4 separate regions of the Homo sapiens genome follow, and all the other regions are linked to region 1. Evidence: promoter capture Hi-C in 16 types of primary human blood cells and fetal thymus (Javierre and others, 2016). All regions are on one chromosome and are shown on one strand. The core of a region is centred on a gene start or on the middle of the fragment in contact, and the rest is flanking DNA. Distances in the headings are between cores, read along the strand shown. Region 1 holds the start of SEL1L (SEL1L adaptor subunit of SYVN1 ubiquitin ligase). Region 2 overlaps CEP128 (centrosomal protein 128). Region 3 overlaps TSHR (thyroid stimulating hormone receptor). Region 4 overlaps TSHR (thyroid stimulating hormone receptor).

Region 1 (2,950 bases), core at 231-2,730:
CCATTAGGGGAGTTTTCAGTGAGGAAGAGAACAGAGGTACATAATAAAATAAAACAATTTAAAAGTTACATAGTTTAAACTGATAGAACTTGATTATCAATAAGATGAAAAAGAAAGGAAAATATACCAGATTTTACTCTATGATTTATAATCAGAGGAACTCAGAGGGAACATTGTTAGTGACAGAAATGGTGATGTAGCTGAAAAGACAAGTTTTTGGAGGAGATAATTCTTTCCTTCATCTCCTCCGATGTGAATGAGAAACAGTGGTTGGTTTTTTACCATCTTCCTGAAAATAAAAGGCTGTATCTCAAAAAACAAAAAACAAAAAACAAAAAAAAAAAGGAAGGAAGACAAATGCCCAGAAGTGTTAAGACACATGGCCAGCAGAGACTTTTCCAAAGTCCTTCACTTGGCTGGACTAGGTTCTAGGCCTTAGAGCTGACTGTGGGTGGATGACAGGGAAAGCAGAATGACACGGTTTGAGAAAAGAAAGGGCAGGCACACCAAGTCACTGCTCTGCTACTCAGTTGGAACATGCCTGGATTTCGTGCTTATTACATAGAGTATTTCCGTGCCTGCGATGCAATCACTATCACCTCTACCTCCACACACGTGAACCTGGTCTCCTGACTTTAGTTAGGAAAGAAGAGAACAATGCAACTCACAAGAGGAGAAGGATGAGGACAAGTGTTTAAAATAATTTTTCAAAGCTGTTGGCACATTTTCTTTATGATTATTGTCTGGTGAACCTAGTGAAAATAAATACTGTATTGAGATAATCTGTGCCGAGCGGATTTATTTCCTTTTGTTTTGTCGGAGAAAGGAGGACAGGTACTGAGTTGCACCCTGGTTTCCGTACTTCACGGTACTGTTTTATCTAAGTTTTAAAAAACACCTCAAATTCAACTAGCTGTGGCATTTTTCTCAGTGCTCTTATCACTATGCCCAATTTAAATTTTTTAAATAAAACAGGAAAAGATGCTAAACACATTACAAGTTCTTAAAATTATTCCTTAATATTTATTTTGGGTCAATTTAAAAAGGCTTGTGAATCCATAGCCTTGAGTTAATATTTAGCCCAGGTGTTAGTTAAATTCTAACTTCAACAGTCACCCGCACTTGTAAATCTTGCCCTACGATGGACTACGTTTCCCAAGAGCACCCCCCGAGTTAATCACATGAAGCGCATTCTGGGAATTGTAGTCTCGGATGAGCCTCTTTCTCCCAGTCTTGGACTCACGCGCTGATTCCGGTTGAACCCAGGGGCTACCAATTAGCTGGGGCCATGTCCGTGAGTCGTGGTCCAACCGAGAAAGCTGGTGTGGGAGCTTCGTACAATGATTGGCCAATGAATGACCCCCGGGGCGGAGCAATGGGGGTGGGCGGGGAGACCATGGTGATTGGACCAGAAGCCCGCGACGGCGGGCGGGGATTGGCTGCGCGCTGGGTCAGGGAAGCCTGGGAAGGGGCGGAGGAAGGAGACTAGAGCAGGAAGAGCAGCGGCGAGGCGGCGGTGGTGGCTGAGTCCGTGGTGGCAGAGGCGAAGGCGACAGCTCTAGGGGTTGGCACCGGCCCCGAGAGGAGGATGCGGGTCCGGATAGGGCTGACGCTGCTGCTGTGTGCGGTGCTGCTGAGCTTGGCCTCGGCGTCCTCGGGTCAGTATCCGCCCCCTCGGGCTGAAGGCCCAGAGCCTCCGCCCCCCAGCCTCTACAGCCGGCGGGGCCGTGGGGACTCCAGGCTCGGGACCCCGTTCTCCCTGGGCACATCTCGCACTGGGCTGTCACTCGCTCTTTGGCTTTGCTTGGCCTGCGCCAAAGGGGCTATTTAGGAAGGTGGAGTGGGGTGGAAAAAGAAGGGGCGGTCACCCTGCCCACACCTCTCTCCCACGTAACAAACTTTGCGCGACTCTTCTCACGAACGCGGAATTGACTCCAAAGGAATGAATCCTGATACAGGAGCCCGAGTGGAGCTTCCTCGACCCTGGGGTAGAGGAAGGGTCTGGTCTAGAACTCTGGGCTTGGGAATTGTAAGTTAAATAATTGACAAACCTGGAGCTGTCACTTTGGGGCAGAGGAGGATCCATCCAGACCAGGATGTTGACAGTAGTTTGCTTAACACCTGAGATGGTCCCTGGTCTGTCTGTTTAAAAACGAAGACTTTTGATCTCATCGTAGCCACTTTTTACTTTTTTGAAACCTTCCTGAGAAAGCGGTGACCTGTCACAGTGTTTCTGAGTTGCCCCATGTTTGTTGACAGTCATTTTATGATGTTTGGGAAAATCTTGGTTCTTATAAGATGCGTTTTATATAGATACAGAAATTTGTGTGCTTTTGAATTGATTTTCCAGTTAGCTAATGTTTATTCTGGTTCTGCTTTTTTCCCCCTTTTTTAATGTTTTAATCTGCCTACATTTGAAAATTTCCATTTTGAGAGTGTTCATGAAAACTTCGTGTTTCTAAGTGTTGATAAATAAAAATTAGTACAGTAAAACTTTGGAATTTTAATCAGTTTCAGTTAACAGGACAGGTGTTCTGTGGCTTGACGTTTTGGGGGGACAACACGGAGTATAAATGTCAGCTTTTTCTTTTTTTAATAAATGTCAGCTTTTTTTTAACAGAAAATTTCCCAGATGGTTATCTGAATCCCCAAATTACCTGTCCTAGTTGTAAATCAATGCCATAACGTCATTCTGCTTCTAAAATAAGAGGCTTAAACCTAAATTCTATCCATGATGTGGTTTGAGATACCATTTCAAAAGCACCAACCCTATGCTAATTACTTTACTGCCAACATCATTCTTTCAGGTCCACTCCCCTCCCTCCAGTAGTAGTGATGGTTTGAGTTAATGACCAGATCTTTAGACTATACTTAACTCTCGAAGCACTTTTAGCAGTTATTTAATATTTGATCAAAAAGCATGAAATGAAGCTGTTGAGCTTAATGAGTA
Region 2 (2,950 bases), core at 129-2,628, 610 kb after region 1:
CACTAAGTAGCACCAGCGCTAGGTAGGGTTAAGGTGTTCCCCTGTGGCCTGGATTGCTCGGCTCCCCAGTGGGAGAGTGTATCATGGAGGCAGTCTCTCCTCCCCACTCATGCTCTGGCAACTCCCAGTTTTCCTCCTGGTTTATCATGTAGACTACTGCCCACTGCTTCTTTCAAAGGGTTTGTGGTTTCTTTCAGTGTTTTTTAAGTTCCTGTGTTGCTTCTTGGAAGAAAGTTCATAGCATGACTTTCTACACACTATTTTGTTTATCCCAGTGGGAGAGGCATGCCAATAATGCCTCCATTCCACTATCTTGGAGAAAAAAAAAACCAAAAAAACAAAAAACCCTTCCAACACTTTCTATGACAAAGTTTAACATCACACTAGCTACAAAGGAGAAATATTTAAAGGCCTCAGCTCTGTTTGCAAAGAGCAGACAATGAAGGATGGATTTGGAGTTGAAAGGCAATTCATTGATTACTGGGAAATTCTAACAGTTTTTTTCTCACTTTTTTGAAACCCTTCTTTTCATAACTTCTGTTGTACAATTTCCCCTAGTTTTTCACCTACTTCTCATGTTTCTTCTCAATCTCATTGGCCACCTCCTCTGTCTGCCTTTTGTATGTTGGAGTTCTTGCGGGGTTTTCTTTGGTTCTACTTCTTTTCTCACTGTGCATTTTTTTTCTTGGTGGTCTTATCCACCCCTATACTGATGACTATCAAATATTTCCTTAGACTCACATATCCGGTTGCATATTAGACATCTTTAGTTTGATATTTCCTCCCATGAAACACAAATTGATCCTCTCTTTCTAATTGAAGCTTAGACAAGTTCAATTTAGAACATATGTTCTCCTAAAAGCTCTTTCTTTTCATTGATTTCTTTGCTCAGTTTAATAGTTCAGGATCCATCCAGCTACCAAAACCAGAAACTTGTGATTCATCTTTTACTCTTTTACCTTGCCATCAGAGTTAATTCATCCCTGCTATACTTCATCTCCACTGCCATTGTCTTAGGTGCTCACCATTCATTACCTAATGATTGCAACAGCCTCCCAGCTGTTCTACTGTTGATGTGCTTATTACCATGTCACTCCCCACTCAGGATCCTTCAGTTTTTTTTCTTTAGTTATAGTAGTGGCTTTCAAATGTTTTTATTTTCTTTTGAAAATAGTAGAATCATTAAAAAAAACCCCCATGAAACCATAGAATGAAAATCAGACGAGGGCAGAACTTCCCTGGTAGAAGGATGCAAGAGCTCAGCTTATTTGGATCCTGTCTACTTTTCTCTAGACAGGTTTTAAGTGGATCCTATTTCCTTGTCTCATCCACCTGTCAAACTTATGTGCATCCTTCAAGATGAGTGGAAAAATCCTAACCTGACTCCCCAAGGATTTTGTTGTATTACTTAGCTCACCGTTTATAATACACTTAAATGTCCTTCTCTCCCATCAAGACTATGACTTATTTATTTACTTTCATCTTTCATTTCTAATGTAGTGACAACTCATTAAATGATGAAAAATCAATTTAAGTATCTGATTCTGTTTCCTAATGTATTATGTTCACTAACATAACAGAACTGACTGGTGGACTGGACAGTTGATTTTGATCTTTTATAAATTTACCAAAAGACTTTGAGGAGATGAAGTTACAGAAGAGCACTGATGTAAAGAAGACAGGTACAATTGTTAATTGTTTCTGCATGGTAATGTCTCCTGGCTTATTAACTTTTTCACTAGAAGGATAAGGCAAAGCTCTCAAGTCCTACAGCTATTGAAACTCTTAGTTCATTTTCATACTGCTATAAAGATATGACATGAGATTGGGTAATTTATAAACAAAGAGGTTTAATTGACTCACAGTTCCGCATGACTGGGGAGACCTCAGGAAACTTACAATCATGGTGGAAGGTGAAGGGGAAGCAAGCTTGGACCTTCTCATATGGTGGCAGGAGAGAGAAGAGTGAGGAGCGAAGAGGGAAGAGCCCCTTATAAAACCATCAGATCTTGTGAGAACTCACTATCATGAGAACAGCATGGAGGAAACTGCCTCCATGATCCTGTCACCTCCCATCAGGTCTCTCACTAAATGCATGGGGATTATGGGGATTACAATTTAAGATGAGATTTGTGTGGGGACGCAAAGCCTAACCATATCAGAAACAGTGAGAAATACATAAAATTTGAATTTTGTTAATGATTAAGTGTAAAGTACACTCCCAATTTTCCCTTACCCCCCTAAGTATCAACACAATTACCTTGAGCATCTTCTTTGAGGATGATTACCTTGGGCAGGGACAGCTGAGGCACTTGGAGGCCACAGAAGCAATCACCTACTTAACATGCACTAGTCAGTCTTTGTGAAATATCACCCCTGATGCTGGGTGCTTATCTTTTATGGAACAGCTTGCAAATCCTAATTGTTTTAAACTGGCTCAGAGGAAAAGAGGTTTGAGAATCAATAAATTACAGCTCTCATACATACAAATGTGCATCATTATAATGAAGACAATCTGATGGCTCTTTAGGTCAAATAACAAAAGAGGTGGACTTGAGTTTGTAAAGGCTCATTGCCAATCCTCTTATTACAAAGGTTGAATTCAGTTTTACTCTCTCTAGTTGGAGTATTCAAGTTTGCATATGGGCATTTGTTTCAGATGGATAGATCCTCAGTGGGAGTGAATTGATGAGGATTTGTTATTTGCTCTGGTGGCTGTATTTCTTCTTTATAAGGTTCATTAAGACAGAAGCAACAATATTTATGCCTTTAAATACTGATTTGTTGGGAGCAGCTAAATAAGCTATTCTAAGAATTGTGATATCAGACCCAGAGCTTGCTCTAAGATTCCAGAGACTTTCTCTCAAGGTCACCCATCTTAGTCTTCTCTAGAGATTTGGAAAAAGCTCACGTCTGAAAAGCAGACGGCACAAATATTGTTGCTTTCTTG
Region 3 (2,950 bases), core at 176-2,675, 560 kb after region 1:
AAACGAAAACCCATGGAATTTATGTTATAGCTAAAACTGTTAAAATGTAATAAAAGTAACTTGGATTAATAACTCACAATAGATAACAATCATGGCAATTTTCATAAATCCAAACACTGAAGAACTAGGTGTTTTGTAATTATAGCTTATACTTCATTTATCTGGCTTCAAGGCATGAATTTAAATCTAAACATTTGTGTTATGGAAAATTCTTCCCTCTAGTACTGTGTATAGTAACCACATCAAGTTACTATATTTCATCATCTTAAGAGGCACATATTTTAAAACTTTAATGTCTCAGGAACCAGGAATTCATTGATTAAAAGTGTTGCTGGATCCCCCTAGGGAAGTGTAGGGAAAGTGTATACCACTACAAGTATTATTGGTGACTGTCCCCCAATCATTCCTAAAAGGGACCTGTGGCCAGTTGCCAAAGTAACTGTCAACTGGTAAACAGAAATCCAAGGCTTCTTGAAGATCATTGGATACAAGGTTTGAGCTTATACTGACAGGAGTATGTCCAAGGATAAATTGCAGATATTAGTGTCAACTTGAAAGACTTAAAGGATGCAGAATGGTGGTGCTTCATATCCTTTCAATTCACCTATCTGCCCCCTGTAAGAAACAAAACCAACAAAAACCCCAAACAAATAGATTAAGGTGAATGACAATGCACTTTAACAAACTTAACCAATAGGTAGGTTCTATCATAGCTGCTGTGCCAGATATGTCTTCACTGGAACACATCAGCACAGCCTGTAGCACTTTATATGTGATTATCAATCTGGTGAATGTGTTCTCTTCTTGATTCCTATCAATAGAGAGAATCAAAAGTAGTAAACCTTTATCTAGGAACAATAGCAATACCAATTCACTGCTTTGCCCAAGGGGTTCCATTTCATAAGAGTTTGTGGGGACGGATAATCTGGACATCACGCACATCATCATACTGGTCTGCTACCTGATGATATGCTAATTAGAGTTGGTGGGCAAAAAGTAGAAAGAAGCCTAGCTAGTCTAGTAAGAAATCTGAAGGTTGGGGGCAGCAGATAAATCCCACAAAGATTCAGGGACCTCTTCCATTAGCAACATGCTTAGTCTGCGGCATTCTAAAAAATCCCTTCTGGCCAGGTATGGTGGCTCACGCTTGTAATCCCAGCACTTTGGGAGGCCGAGGTGGGTGGGTCATTTGAGGTCAGGAGTTCAAGACCAACCTGGCCACCCGTCTCTACTAAAAATACAAAAATTAGCCGGGCAGTAGTGGCATGTGCCTGTAATCCCAGCTACTTGGGAGGCTGAGGCAGGGTAATTGCTTGGGCCTTGGAGGCAGAGGTTGCCACAAGCCAAGCTAATGCCAGCCAAAAAATGAACTACTGCTGCACTGCAGTCTGGGTGACAGAGTGAGACCCTGTCTCACAAAAAAATCCCTTCTAAGGTATAGGACATACAGTTGTATCTTGCCCTTTCTACCTTTTACAAAGAAGTACAGCACTTGCTGGGCGTCTTGGCTTTTGGCAGCAGTGTAACCCATTTTCCCATTTATCAGATAACTCAGAAGGCTGCCAGTTTCAGGTAGGACCTACAAGAGTCTATAACAGATTCAGGCTGAAATGCCAGCTTCCCTGCCATGTGGGCCATACAGCCCAGCCCAGCAGGTCTTACAACACTACAGATATCCATCCTGGACAAGGATATTCTGTGGACTCGCCAGCAGGTCCCAAGAAGAGAATGAAAGCTCAGGCTCTTAAAGTTTTGGAGCAAGGATCTGCCTTCTGAAGGACAGAAATACCCTTTATGAGGAAAATAATTCCTGACATGCTATTCTGCCCTAGTAGAGACTGAGATCTCTTCAATGGGACACTAAGTGACTCTGTGACTACAGCTGCCCATTGTGAATTGGGTATTGCCAGTTCTACTACATAAAATAAGGTGAGCACAGCAGCAATTGATTTTATGATAGAAATTTTACATTCTGGATCAAGAAAGTCTAGAAAGGGAAGGTAAATTCATGAATAGGTGGCCTAGACTCCCACTTCACTTATTTCTGCTGCACTCTCACTGAAATTGGCTTCATGGAGAGCTCCATATGACCACTTGATGGAGTTCATAGGTTGGTGTCTGCTTTACAGATTGGCACAAGCTAATGCCAGCCAAAAAAAATGAACTACTGCTGCATTACAGCCCCACTCAAGGGTGGCCCTAAAGGATAGTGGTGAAGGGAAATCTTCACAGTCAGTTCATCTGTGAGCATTATAGCAATCATTCTTTTTGTATGAAGGGAGAAAGAACCGTGGCAAGGGTATACATGGAATACCAAGAAGTAGCAAGTAATTTACCTGGTTGACCACTGGCCTAGAAAGAATACTATTGGAAAACAGAGAACAAGAAAGTCTAGGAAACAAATATGGCTATATCTATGGGGGTGGGAACAAATTCTGTGGACCTTTGTGTCTCACGTTAATGCTCATCAGAGAGTATCCACTGATTACTCTGGTTTGCGGTGAATCTCAACACCCAGGTAGACTAGATGACTCATTTTATAAATGCCATCCAGTTTTGGAGAAATGAACATGAATGAAGTGGTCATGGTGACAGGAATGGAAGCCAAGCATGGACCCAATGGCTTGGGCTCCTTTTCATCAAGTCTAATCAAGATACTTCTCCTGTAAATGACCAACCTTTCAGCAGTATAGCCCATTGCTGCACCCTTGGTAAGGCACATTTCTTTAAAGAGAACAGCCAGTCATTTGGTGGCAGTTTGATTATACTGGACCATTTCCACCCTGTAAGAAATAGTAATTCATTTAAAACCTCATGATTACTTTGGATTTGGCCTTCTCTGACTTCAATGCCTCCACCGGCACCACCATTTAAGGGTTTATAAAATACCTGATCTACCAGTATGAAAACGTGTACAGCATTGCCTCAACCAAGGGATGCATTTCATGGC
Region 4 (2,950 bases), core at 255-2,754, 540 kb after region 1:
TCATATGAGAAAACATTGAAATCTGATGATTTTTAAAAGTCACATATGGATTTGCACATAATTCTTAAGAGAGAAAAATCAGAACTTATTCAAGCTGTACTTTAATCATTCTCTTCATGAATGTCACTGTTAACTTGCACAAAACATTTAAAAATTATCTGTTTCAGCCAGGCGCAGTGGCTCATGCCTGTAATCTCAGCATTTTGTGAGGCCGAGGTGGGTGGATCACCTGAGGTCAGGAGTTCGAGACCAGCCTGGCCAACATGGTGAAACCCCGTCTCTACTAACGATATAAAAATTAGCCAGGAGTGGTGGTGGGCACCTGTAATCCCAGCTACTGGGAAGGCTGAGGCAGGAGAATCGCTTGAACCCAGGAGGCGGAGGTTGCGGTAAGCCGAGACTGTGCCATTGCGCTCCAGCCTGGGCAACAAGAGCGAAACTCCGTGTAAAAAAAAAAAATTCTGTTTCAGCCTGTCTCTTAAAGAAAGCCATCACCAGTTTTGTGTTTCCAACATCAATGGATTTCAAAAACCAAAATAGGAACAATCTCAAGTAACAGGGTTAAGTAACAGGTGTAGGTTCAAAGCTTTTTTTATTGGACATATCTTATTTGCATCCTCTTCCACTCTGGACTCAACCGAGGAACCTTCCCGCAGGGCATGGAATCTGGCTTTCCAAAGAGCCATCAAAGGGGCCAGATGACAGAACTGGAAGTGCAGGGGAGTAACTTTGATCGGTGGGAAAAAAGATATGAGACGATATGGGGACAGTAAGTTGCTTATTATGAGCTGCCCCAAGGCATAGGTCCATACAGCCTGGCCACAGATACCTTGCTTGGATGTACAGACCACTTGCCACATTCCCTGCTGGGTTTCCAGGTTCGCTGGGAAGCAGTAGTCACTGCATTGTCCCTTAGCCCTTCCTGCCTTTTCTTTCTCCTTACTCTCACATCAGCAAGTAATCTCTGCCTCACACTCTGTTTTCCAGGGAACTCTGGCTAAAAATATCTATTAACCAGTACGTTAAATGTTCATTTCAATCCAGTATAGCTTTTGTGAACCTACTATATGAAAGGTGCTATATTGGATATTATAAGGAATTAAAGCTGAATAAAATTTAATCCTTGACTTTTGGCACTAATGGTCCGGAAGAGAAGCTAAAACAATTGCATAGGCAGCATAGCTCTGGAAAACAATTCAGGAGAGTTGGGTTCTAGGTCTGGCTCCGTTGGTCGCTGGCTGATATTTAATCTTGAGCAAGACATTTACTCTTTCTGGGTCTCAGTTCCCTTAGCTGTAAAATACAGGGTTGTCTTAGGTAACCTCTAAAGTGTCTTCCACAACTAAAATCCAAACCTCTAAAGTGTCTTCCACAACTAAAATCCGATGATTTTATAAATTTAGTCGAATAGAAGTGAGACTAAAATGCAATCCACACGCTGTGGGAACCCAGGACTTAAGGATTTGGGAAGGCTTTGGGAAGAATAAGGCATTTGATCTGAGACTTGAAGGATTTGTAGGATTTTGATAGGCAGGGAACAGATGGGAATTTCAAGCAGAAAGAAAAGCATAAACAAAGAAGTGCAAAAGGAAGATTGCAATGTGCATTCAGGAGAGCTGTGAATAGTTCAGTTTGGTTGTGGCAAGGCGTAAATTAAGTTATCTAAATTAAAGAGGTTGGTAAATCAGAAATGGAAGATGTCGACTGCCATGTTAAAAATTTGAGCTTTAACGGATATTCATTGACCCAACATATCCATGGAACACCTACTATGAGAGAATGAGTGAGGTGCCGAGAACATAGAAATAAAGAAAATATAGTTGCTGCCCTGAAGAATCCTCAAGGGGCTTATGAGCAGTGGGCAGGGAAGTGGTAACCACAAGTGAAGCTAGTGTAAAAAATGCTGTAACAAACGAAACTGAAGTGGAGGGAAAAGAAGTGTGGGTCATTTCAAGGTGCAATTAACATAAAAGAGGCAGAGGAAGAGTCAATGATAACAGAAGTAAGGACAATGGGGAAAAGAGAAGCATAAGTAGTTTTGTTAACAGAAAGGTAAGTTCATTTTGGGTGCTGAATTTGAGGTGCTCCCAGACAACTAGACAGAAATGTCTAACTGGTAGAAAAAATACTGGTGTGTGGCTAGCTTGAGATGTTGGCGCAAGTGATATGAGTATATTCTGTGAGTGACTCATAGGTCTGGAGAGATGTGTCAAGAAAGAAAATATAGACAGAAAAGAAGATCAAGGGGAGTAGTTTGGGGGAATGCCCACATTAAACAGTCAGAAAAAGTAGGAGGTGTGGACCAAGAAGACAGAATCAAACTATCAGAGATGTTCGACAATCAGCATAAAGGATGTTGAAGGATGAAAGAATTTCAAGGAAGATGAGAGGGGTGAATTAAATCAGAGGCTCCTCAAGCTTAGTGGACCAAATGCATCCAAATCAGTTGAGACATGTCTTTAGAATATGGAATTTGTGCCTACATGGATCCTTAAGAAACTGTTAACAAGGATTGCCTTAGGAGAGGAAATGTAAGGAAACTAAGGGGAAGTGATATGGTTTGGATCTGTGTCCCTGTCCAAATCTCAGGTCAAATTGTAATCCTCAATGTTGGAGGTGGGGCCTGGTGGGAGGTGATTAGATCATGGTGGGTAGATCTCCCCTGCCGTGCTGTTCTCATGATAGTGAGTGAGCTCTCATGAGATCTGGTCATTTAAAAGTGTGTGGCACTTCCCCACCCCCTTCCTCCACACCTACTTCCCCTTCACCTTCTGCCATAATTGTAAGTTTCCTGAGGCTTCCCCAGAAGCCAAGTAGATGCCAGCATCATGCTTCCTGTACAGGTTGCATAACTCTGTGCCAAATACACCTCTTTTCTTTATCAATTACCCAGTCTCAGGTATTTCTCTATAGCTTGTAAGAACACTTATACAGGAAGGGTGGATTTAAG

Evidence for each region. Contacts are between HindIII fragments. The CHiCAGO score rates a contact against its expected background, and 5 or more counts as called.
Region 2: a fragment that was not itself captured here is called in contact with the fragment with the promoter of SEL1L in region 1 in 1 of 17 cell types (naive CD8 T cells); the score reaches 6.1 in naive CD8 T cells.
Region 3: a fragment that was not itself captured here is called in contact with the fragment with the promoter of SEL1L in region 1 in 2 of 17 cell types (total CD8 T cells and total CD4 T cells); the score reaches 7.0 in total CD8 T cells.
Region 4: a contact is called between a fragment that was not itself captured here and the fragment with the promoter of SEL1L in region 1, in 1 of 17 cell types (total CD4 T cells). The highest score is 6.8, in total CD4 T cells.

Annotation. Positions count from the first base shown.
Region 1 is chr14:81,532,383-81,535,332 of GRCh38, reverse strand. It overlaps SEL1L (SEL1L adaptor subunit of SYVN1 ubiquitin ligase), which reads left to right and starts at 1,480. Exons shown (of 21, transcript NM_005065.6): 1 at 1,480-1,658. The coding sequence starts at 1,589. RefSeq lists a silencer at 1,357-1,476 and an enhancer at 1,193-1,692. The HindIII fragment of the contact is 11,079 bases long and covers 1-2,950 here.
Region 2 is chr14:80,922,977-80,925,926 of GRCh38, reverse strand. The region is part of intron 2 of CEP128 (centrosomal protein 128); the gene reads left to right. Among named protein-coding and RNA genes, the nearest start is that of CEP128, 17 kb to the left of the region's middle. The HindIII fragment of the contact is 1,107 bases long and covers 825-1,931 here.
Region 3 is chr14:80,969,299-80,972,248 of GRCh38, reverse strand. The region is part of intron 1 of TSHR (thyroid stimulating hormone receptor); the gene reads right to left. Among named protein-coding and RNA genes, the nearest start is that of TSHR, 15 kb to the right of the region's middle. The HindIII fragment of the contact is 4,350 bases long and covers 1-2,950 here.
Region 4 is chr14:80,988,170-80,991,119 of GRCh38, reverse strand. All of the region lies in intron 1 of TSHR (thyroid stimulating hormone receptor), which reads right to left. Among named protein-coding and RNA genes, the nearest start is that of TSHR, 34 kb to the right of the region's middle. The HindIII fragment of the contact is 1,832 bases long and covers 589-2,420 here.